Regions from separate parts of the Homo sapiens genome. Here region 2 is linked to region 1. The links are contacts of gene promoters, found by promoter capture Hi-C in blood cells and fetal thymus (Javierre and others, 2016). All regions are on one chromosome and are shown on one strand. The core of a region is centred on a gene start or on the middle of the fragment in contact, and the rest is flanking DNA. Distances in the headings are between cores, read along the strand shown. Region 1 holds the start of CLEC18B (C-type lectin domain family 18 member B). Region 2 overlaps RFWD3 (ring finger and WD repeat domain 3).

Region 1 (4,846 bases), core at 924-3,423:
ATGGTGCCATCTTGCTTCACTGCAACCTCCGCCTCCCAGATTCAAGCAATTCTCCTGCCTCAGCCTACCGAGTAGCTGGGACTACAGGCACCCACCACCCTGCCCAGCTAATTTTTGTATTTTTAGTAGAGACAGGATTTCACCATGTTGGCCAGGCTGGTCTCAAGCTCCTGACCTCAAGTGATCCGCCTGCCTTGGCCTCCCAGAGTTCTGGGATTACAGGCATGAGCCATCACACCCGGCCTGGGACTCTTCTTGCAGTGAGCCAGGGCCATGGGACCCTTCAAAAGTTGCTCCACCCTAATCCCCAAAATATCTTTTTCTCCCGCCTGTCCCAAGTGCCTGGCATCATACTATATGGGTCAACTGGCCGTGTTTGCCATGGAAGCCCAATTGTAGGAAGTGGGTCTTTTATCACCCGGCATAGCAGAGCTGTGGAAACTGCACTGGGAAAGATCAGGATGTGAATTAAAGCGTTGGGAATGGGAAGGCAGAGACCTTGGATTAGCTGGGATGCTCCATGCACTCGCTGAGTGACCTTGGACAAGCCCCTTAGACACACTAAGCCCGTTTCCTCATCTACACGACGGGCATCCCATCTGCTACTGCACCAGGTTCTTGTGGCAATAACTTGAACTCACACATGCAAACAGGCTTTGTGAGCTCCATAAACACAGGTGGCTCGGCCAGGTGTGGTGGCTCATGCCTGCAACCCCAGCACTTTGGGAGGCCAAGGTGGGAAGATCCCTTGAGCCCAGGAGTTGGAGACCAGCCTGGGCAAGACGATGAAATCCTGTCTCTACCAAAAAAAATAATAATAATTAGCCAGGCATGGTGGCACACACCTGGTCCCAGCTACTTGGGAGGCTGAGGTGGAAGGATCACTTGGGCCCAAGAGGTCAAGGCTGCAGTGAGCTGAGATTATAACACTCCAACCTGAGTGGCAGAATGAAACTGTCTAAAAAATAAAAATAAAAATACATCAAAAAACAGGTAGCTATTAAGCATTGCTAGGACCCACACGCAGTGACCCTGAGGGTGCTGGGTTTCTGTTTGAGGGAGAAGAAACTCCTGAGCCCCTAGGTATTGTGGGGGACATGCAGTTCCAGACCGCCTTCATGGCCTGTATGCCTGGCCTCATCCCCATCCCTGGCACCCATGACGATAGCCACATTCCACTGGTGTTTCCCCAGGAAAGCCAACCCTACCTGCATCTCAGCAGAGCTTCCACGGAGTTGGAACCCCGCTCCGAGAGGGTGTGGGCTCAGGGGCCAGGGGTCACACAAACTCCAGAAGGAGGACGTAGTTGGTTTGCAAGGCTGTCCTTTGCCCTGGTTGAATAACCTTCGGTCTGCCCCGAGAGGAACGTGGGCATTAGGCTGCAGCCCGCAGGAAGCCATGTATTTTCTGAGAAACTTGGCCCATGGTGCAGATCTGCTCCAGCTCACTCTGGTGGGATCACGCCAGCCACGGCCGGGCCACGGCACATCATGGCAACGTGCTGCCCACCTGCTACGCCGCCTGTTTTTCTAGAGGCGGACGTGATCCCAGCAGGACTGGAGTCAGCCCAGGGCATCACGTGCTCTGGTCCCCGCCTGCTTTGACTCCTCCTGCCTCACTCCCCCCCTGGCCTGTAGTCACGTGGGTGAGGGTGGTGGGCACCGGGGCTGGGCCCAGCCCCCGACCCTGCCCAGACAGACTTTCCTAAGGCACCCTTTTCCTCGTGCAGGTGCGGCCTCAGCCCACCCCCCTTTGAGCCCACAGATTGCACCCCTCTGGTGTGCGGTTACCTCTTGCCTATGTTTAATTCATGGCTGGGGGGTTGGGACGAGCTTCCCAAGAAAGGAAAGAACTCCCCTGGGGTCTTGCCCAGTTCCTGCTCACCAGAAGGACCATAGCCGAGGTCCTCCTCCCAGGGCCCGGGGCTGGGGAGCGGAAGCCATCAGTGGGCTCGGAGGACACTGTCCCAGCCAGGACACGGCCATCGGTCACTAATCTGCAGCACCGGAATGTCCCCAGGCCAATCAGCGGGGTCTCTGGGGGCTCCCCAAGGGTGCTAATAATCCCACAATGATTAGCAGGGGCCGCGGGGCAGTGCACGCCACTCTGCCTGCTGTCGGGGGCGGGCTGGCCAGGCCGAGGCCGGAGCAGGCAGGCATCCCCGGGAGTTGTCTCTTTTCATGCCAGCGCCAACAGGAGGCTGTCTGGACACACTGATTACTCACTCACCAGCCTCCTTCTTTTGTTCACCAGCCCCCCTCTTTTGTCCACCAGCCCAGCCTGACTCCTGGAGATTGTGAATAGCTCCATCCAGCCTGAGAAACAAGCCGGGTGGCTGAGCCAGGCTGTGCACGGAGCGCCTGACGGGCCCAACAGACCCATGCTGCATCCAGAGACCTCCCCTGGCCGGGGGCATCTCCTGGCTGTGCTCCTGGCCCTCCTTGGCACCACCTGGGCAGAGGTGTGGCCACCCCAGCTGCAGGAGCAGGCTCCGATGGCCGGAGGTAAGGGACACCTGGTGAGGAGGTAGGTGGAGGCACCATTATGAGCTCTGAGGAGTGGGTGCTAGGAGACTTCTGGAAGCCCGGTCCCAGGCCTGAGCCCCAGGCCGTGCGGGTGGTTTAATGAGGAAGCCCTGGGACAGCCCGGGGGCGGTGAGGGGTGGATGCTGGACTGGGGAGGAAGGAGGAGGAAGGAGGAGGAAGGAGGACCAGGGCTGGGGTCAAGGAGGAACGCCGAGGAGCGCTGTGGCTGGGGCCTGGAGAAATCCGTGGCCCGGAGGAGCCCCAGACAGGGGCCTGCGGGAGCCAGGGCTGGCCCCTACACCCAGCCCGCACCGCTGTTCCCTCCCGCCACCCCAACCCCAGCACTCAGCCCACGCCTGCTGTACCTGGTCTCTCTCTCAGCCTCGCTCCATTGCTATGCCCCACGTCCCCTGCACCCACCACACTCCTCTCCCATCTTGTTTTCCAAGGGCAGGGACACATGCTTATTCTGCCGTGTGTTGGGTTCAGGTCCCCCCATCCTCGGGCTGCCTGACCTTCTCTCCCCACCCCAGCCCTGAACAGGAAGGAGAGTTTCTTGCTCCTCTCCCTGCACAACCGCCTGCGCAGCTGGGTCCAGCCCCCTGCGGCTGACATGCGGAGGCTGGTGAGTACCCGACCCAGCTGGGCTCTGCCAGGGGGGTGGCCGGAGGCGCGGACCCCAGAGGGCGGCTCAGGAGGCCACGCCTGTCCAGGTGCCCTTCCACTTGACCAGGGTGGGCAGGCACAGCCAGCCACCTTGCCCCTGAGGGACGGAGGCCCTGGTTGCTGGGGGTCTCTGCAGTTTCTTAACCCCCCACCCTCAGTTCAGGAGGTCGGGCCCCTTGGCTCCCACTCGCCTGAAGGGCAGGACCTTGGGCCTTCCCTGGCATCTTGTTGCCACAGAGACCAGGAGCCACAGGAGGAGCCGGATCCCCTCCTCCAGGGAAGGGGAGCTTCACGAGGAGCCCTGCAGGATGGGCGGCCGGGCCAGGGAGGGAGAAGGTCGTGCTGGGCTGGGGAGGGGCTTCTGTGCGGCAAGGACCCAGCGCCTCCTCCTGAGCTTATCTGAGCCACTAGGACGGGCCTTGCCCATGTTCTCTGCTCACTCACTCGTCCACATTTTCCACATTTTCAGCAGGGGCCAGGGGTCGGGGGTATAGAGTTCCCCACCAGCCCGGCTGGGGCTGCGGGGTTGGGACTGTCATCTGGAGGCTCAGAAACGCTGCCCTCCATTGTCTGGGACCCCAGCAGCCCCAGCCCATGTTAGCAGGCCAGGGAGCCAGGGCAGGGTGGTGGGGGCGGGAGGGTTCCCCATGGCTGCTTCCCATGAACTCCTCCAAGGCAGGTGGCCACAGTGGCGACCTTGAACACTCTAGGGTCAGTTTCCCAGGAGGTGGGGGTGGGGTGGCTAAATGCGGGGGGTCGCTTCTCCCCCATTCCCAGCCCTGAGTGGCTCTGCCTCTCCTCAGGCTCAGACCCTGGGCAACCAGGGGTGCTCCCAGCTGTGACCTCCGTGGTTGGGTACTCCTGCCTGGGACCCCAGGAGGGGCTGCGGTGGTCGTTGGCTGGCAGCTGGCACCCTTTCCAGGGCCCTTTTGTCAAAGTCTTAGAAAACTTCATTTCCATAAAGGTGCAAATGGAGCTCCATGGCTCAGCCTCCCTCGTGGCCCGGCCCCGAGCACCCTCCGGGCCTCTAGGGCTCCAGGGCACCCCTTCTTTGGACACAGTGGAGACTGAAGGTCTTGTGGGGGTGGAGGGCTGCTGAGGGACCCCGGGGAGCCCCCAGCTCCTGGCCCCAGCCTTCATCAGAGGTAAAACCCCGATGGACATTAGTGCAGGATGAAGTTGGCTTGGGGTGCAGCCCCGAGGGGCCCCCCTCCCTGCATCCACTCTGTGCTTGTGAGTCCTATCCTGCAGGCACCTCCCTGCTCCGTTTACAGATGAGCTCAGGGAGTCTCGGGAGATCAGGGGACTGCACCAAGTCACCCAGGGGTGGTGATTGCCAGGCCCCTTGTTTAAGAAGAGGGAGGGGGCTGGGCACGGTGGCTCACACCTGTAATCCCAGCACTCTGGGAGGCTGACACAAGCAGATCACCTAAGGTCAGCAGTTTGACACCAGCAATGGCCAACATGGTGAAACCCCGTCTCTACTAAAAATACAAAAATTAGCCAGGTGTGGTGTCACATGGCTGTAATCCCAGCTGCTTGGGAGGCTGAGGCAGGAGAATTGCTTGAACCTGGGAGGCGGAGGTTGCAGTAAGCCGGGATTTCTCCACTGCACTCCAGCCTGGGCGACAGGGTGAGACTCTGTCTCAAAAAAA
Region 2 (4,846 bases), core at 1,591-4,090, 210 kb before region 1:
AAAGATCAAGGAATTGTATTTGAGGGGAATATCAAATTAAAAAGCTTTGTATTTATAAAATCTTTTTCATTTTAGGACTTGCAAAAACTTACGTCACATCAAAGTCAGAATTTACAGCAACCCAGGGGCTCCCAAGCATGGGTCCTGAGCTGCTCACCCTCCAGCCAGGGCCAGCACAAGCACAAGTACCACTTCCAAAAGACCTTCACAGTATCTCAGGCAGGAAACTGCCGGATCATGGCATACTGTGATGCTCTGAGCTGCCTGGTGATATCACAGCCTTCTCCTCAGGCCTCTTTTCTTCCAGGTAAAGAGTCTAGAACCTCAGCTTTCATGTTCTTTATTAGACTCCATATATTTATTTCCTTGCCTTTTGGAAAATTCAAGACTCAAAGGTTACCAAATCACCTTTCCCTATTAGTTCCTTGTTAATGCAAGTACCCCAGGGTGCTGCAAAGATGTCTTTACTGTCTGTTGACTTCATTCTGTAAATTTATTAACCAAGAGGGTAGAAATACTGATAACCATGATAAAGCAGATGGTGAGGTCCTTGGAAGTGTAGGTTACTGATATAGTCCAAGAAGGACTTATATGTCCTCAACTTACAGATGCATTTTAGACTGGAAATGTTTGACAAAACACAGCCCTAAGGGTTAATTCAAGGTGAAACAAAATTTAATATTTACTTACAATAGTGTTCAAGTTAACAATTTCCAAATAAGAGAATTTAGGGAGTAAATTGATTATTTTATTAATACTAGGTTAATTTTCTCTCAACATGTTTTGTGTTTTTAAGCTTAATTTTAGGTTTTCTAAATGTTGAAAACCAAGTCTTTTCAAATGCTCAATTAAATCATTTCTAAATCTTGCAGATGTTTCTTTCTGCTGTCTTTAGCATAAGATTTCTGCCAACTGCAAGACCCCTTTGCTTTAGCATGGTTATATAATGTTCCTTTATCCCATCTAAGTTTTTAATAAAAAGATTTATCATCAAATAAAACCAACAAATTGGAAAAATAGCTATTTCCTAATGTTCCCCAAATTGGGAATGTGTTCTGTTCTTTTTTTCTTAACGTGTCCATTCCAGTCCGCTTGATAGTGTGCTGGTGTTGATTTGTCCTTGTTCCCCTTAATGATTAACTCGGTGTGTATTTCTGTTACCTTGTTGATTTTTTTTTTTTCTTTTGAGATGGAGTCTCACTCTTTTGCGCAGGCTGGAGTGCAGTGGCCTGATCTCAGCTCACTGCAACCTCTGCCTCCTGGATTCAAGAGATTCTCCTGCCTCAGCCTCCCAAGTAGTTGAGACTACGGGTGCATGCCACCATGCCTAGTTAATTTTTTTTTTTATTTTTTATTTTTTTTATTTTTTTGAGATGGAGTCTCGCTCTTTCGCCTAGGCCGGACTGCAGTGGCGCTGTCTCTATCTCGGCTCACTGCAAGCTCCACCTCTCGGGTTCATGCCATTCTGCCTCAGCCTCCTGAGTAGCTGGGACTACAGGCGCCCGCCACCACACCCAGCTAATTTTTTGTATTTTTAGAAGAGACGGAGTTTCACCGTGTTAGCCAGGATGGTCTCAATCTCCTGACCTCATGATCCGCCCGCCTCGGCCTCCCAAAGTGCTGGGATTACAGGCGTGAGCCACCGCGCCCGGCTATGCCTAGTTAATTTTTGTATTTGAAATGGGGTTTTAACATTTTGGTCAGGCTGGTCTCCAACTCCTGACCTCAGGTGATTCACCCATCTCAGCCTCCGAAAGTACTGGGATTACAGGCATGAGCCACCATGCCTGGCCACCTTGTTGATTTAAAGCCTATACCTGCGCCCCCCTTCCCCCCTTTTTTTTTCCTCTCTGGCTGTCTTAATTCTGCTAGAAGAAAGTACAGTAAGCCACGTGCTTGGTTCCCTGGAGAAGCTGAAGCTATCTTGAATCTAGGATTTGACGTATTTTTAAAGAATTTAACTCAAGTGGGCACAGTGGCTCATGACTGTAATCCCAGCACTTTGGGAGGCCAAGGCGGGAGGATCGTTTGGGCCCAGGAGTATGAGACCAGTCTGGGCAACATAGTGAGACTCCATCGCTATAAAAAAAATTTTTCTTAACTAGCTTGGTGTGGTGGCACACCTCTCTGGTCCCAGCTACTTGGGAGGCTGAGTTGGGAGGATCGCTTGAGCCTAGGAGATCGAGGCTATTGTGAGCCATGATGGTGCCACTGCACCTTAGCATGGGTGACAGAGTGAGGCCTTGTCTCAAAATATATATATATATATATATAAAGTACTTAGTAAAAAATAAATGTTATCATAGCCTAGTAAGAGAACAGAGTAACAAGAAGTTTTAAAAGGTTATTGGTTTTTGTTGGTTATTTTCCCCCCACTTCAGTAATGTGGGTACTTGAAATGTCATCTGTTTCATTTCATTTCAGACAGATGTGACATATCTTGACTGACAAATTATTTATTTTCATTCTCTATTGTTCACTATTCCTTCTGCATCTGGAGTGTCTGTGGTTCTGGTGAAATATTCTGTCTCTCAACAGCTTTATTGAAGTAGAATTGACAGAGAGTAAACTACATATTTAAAGTATACAATTTGATGACTTTTAACATATGTAATACACCCCTGAAACCATGACTACAATCAAGATAACTTTAATTTTTTTTTTTTTTGACAGAAGATCTAGTTCTGTCTTCCAGGCTGGATGCAGGGAGGGGTGTGATCTCCCGGGCTGGAATGCAGGGAGGGGTGTGATCTCAGCTCATTACAACCTCCGCCTCCTGGGCTCAAGTCATCCTTCCACCTCAGCCTCTTGAGTAACTGGGACTACAGGCTCGCCCCACTACGCCCAGCTAATTCTCATATTTTTTGTAGCAACAGGGTTTCACCATATTGCCCAGGCTGGTCTCGAACTCATGATCTCAAGCGAGCCACCCACCTCAGCCTCCCAAAGTGCTGGGATTACAGGCGCGAGCTACCATGCTTGGCCATGAACATATGTATTACCGCAAAAGTTTCCCTATGGCCTTTGATAATCTCACCTGCCCCTCCCTCCTCTCCCATCCCCAGCAGTCACTGCTTTTTGTCACTACAGATGAGTTTGCATTTTCTAGAATTTTACATAAATGGAATTATATAGTGTTACCATTTTTTGGTCTGACTTCTTTCTCGCTGCATAATTTTTTATTGTATATATTAGTAGTTAATTCCTTTTTAACGGGTGGTATTCCATCACATGTTTATACAGTAGGTTTGTTTATCCATTTACCTGGATGTTTGGAGTAGGTTATACTTTTTCTTTTTTTTTTTCTTCTTCTCTTCATTGTCATGAAGCAAGCATGGGTTGTACTTTTTTTTCTTTTCTTTTTTTTTTTTTTCTGAGACGGAGTTTTGCTCTGGTTGCCCACGCTGGAGTGTAGTGGTGCAATCTTGTCTCACTACAACCTCCGCCTCCTGGGTTCAAGCGATTCTCCTGCCTCAGCCTCCTGAATAGCTGGGATTACAGGAACTTGCCACCACGCCTGGCTAATTTTTTGTGTTTTAGTAGAGACAGGGTTTCACTGTGTTGGCCAGGCTTGTCTTGAACTCCTGACCTCAGGTAATCCACCTGTCTCGGCCTCCCAAAGTGCTGGGATTACAGAGGTGAGACACCATGCCTGGCCTGGGTTGTACTTTTTTAAATGAATCATAGGCCAGGTGTGGTGGCTCATGCCTGTAATCCCAGCACTTTGGGAGGCTGAGGCGAGCAGATCACCGGGAGGCAGAAGTTGTAGTGAGCTGAGGTTACGCCACTGCATTCCAGCCTGGCCAACTCTCAAAAATAAATGAATAAATTGTAACACTAGAGAATTTTTGTTTGACCAGCTGGTTCCCAAGGACTTATACGCCAAGAAAGGTGGACGAAGGAGCTACTTGAAAAACTAGTTTGAATTGCCCTAGGTTCACTTTCAGTGATCTATTTCATACTATTTTGCCTTTTTCAGGCTTTGGTGTTAAGATGTTGAGTACTGCCAACATGAAGAGCAGTCAGTACATTCCGATGCATGGCAAACAGATCCGTGGACTGGCGTTTAGCAGTTACCTCAGAGGCTTGCTACTCTCTGCTTCCCTAGACAACACTATTAAACTGACCAGGTGAGTGATTTGGGGAAGTAGGTGGAGACTGGGCTCTTTGGTGTTGAGTAGCATGGAATTCGTATCGGTGTTATGATGACCTTAGCTCTGTTTTTTGTTGTTGTTGTTGTTTTGTTTTGTTTTGTTTTTTTGAGATGGAGTCTCGCTCTGTCACCCAGGCTGGAGTGCACTGGTGGGATCTCGGCTCACTGCAAGCTCCACCTTCCGGGTTCAGGCCATTCTCCTGCCTCAGCCTCCCGAGTAGCTAGGACTACAGGCGCCTGCAACCATGCCTGGCTAATATTTTCTATTTTTGTAGTAGAGACGGGGTTTCACTGTGTTAGCCAGGATGGGCTCAATCTCCTGACCTCATGATCCGCCCGCCTCGGCCTCCTGAAGTGCTGGGATTACAGGCGTGAGCCACTGCGCCCAGCCGACCTTAGCTCTGTTTTTTTTGGTCTGAGACTGTGTCTTCTGAGATCCATTTAAAATATATTGCTTTTAGAAGTGGGCACAGAAGGTTACAAAACTGTATGTTTCCTGTTTCTTTGAAACTATGTATATTACAAAATATGTCTTAAGTATATTTTAAGGAGATGAGAATAAAACTCTAAAGTTGGTGGAGACCAGGCGTGGTGGCTCACGCCTGTAATCCTAGCGCTTTGTGAGGCCGAGGCAGGCAATCAGCTGAGGTCAGGGGTTTGAGACCAGCCTGGCCAACATGGTGAAACCCCGTC

The links. Contacts are between HindIII fragments. The CHiCAGO score rates a contact against its expected background, and 5 or more counts as called.
Region 2: a contact is called between a fragment that was not itself captured here and the fragment with the promoter of CLEC18B in region 1, in 1 of 17 cell types (endothelial precursors). The highest score is 6.6, in endothelial precursors.

The regions. Positions count from the first base shown.
Region 1 is chr16:74,418,805-74,423,650 of GRCh38, reverse strand. CLEC18B (C-type lectin domain family 18 member B) reads left to right here and starts at 2,173. Exons shown (of 12, transcript NM_001385193.1): 1 at 2,173-2,504; 2 at 3,059-3,150. The coding sequence starts at 2,381. LOC107984827 (a long non-coding RNA gene) reads right to left here and starts at 1,531. Exons shown (of 3, transcript XR_001752253.3): 1 at 1,209-1,531. The HindIII fragment of the contact is 28,054 bases long and covers 1-4,846 here.
Region 2 is chr16:74,631,807-74,636,652 of GRCh38, reverse strand. RFWD3 (ring finger and WD repeat domain 3) reads left to right here. Exons shown (of 13, transcript NM_018124.4): 8 at 76-307; 9 at 3,980-4,130. Among named protein-coding and RNA genes, the nearest start is that of GLG1, 27 kb to the right of the region's middle. The HindIII fragment of the contact is 4,083 bases long and covers 799-4,846 here.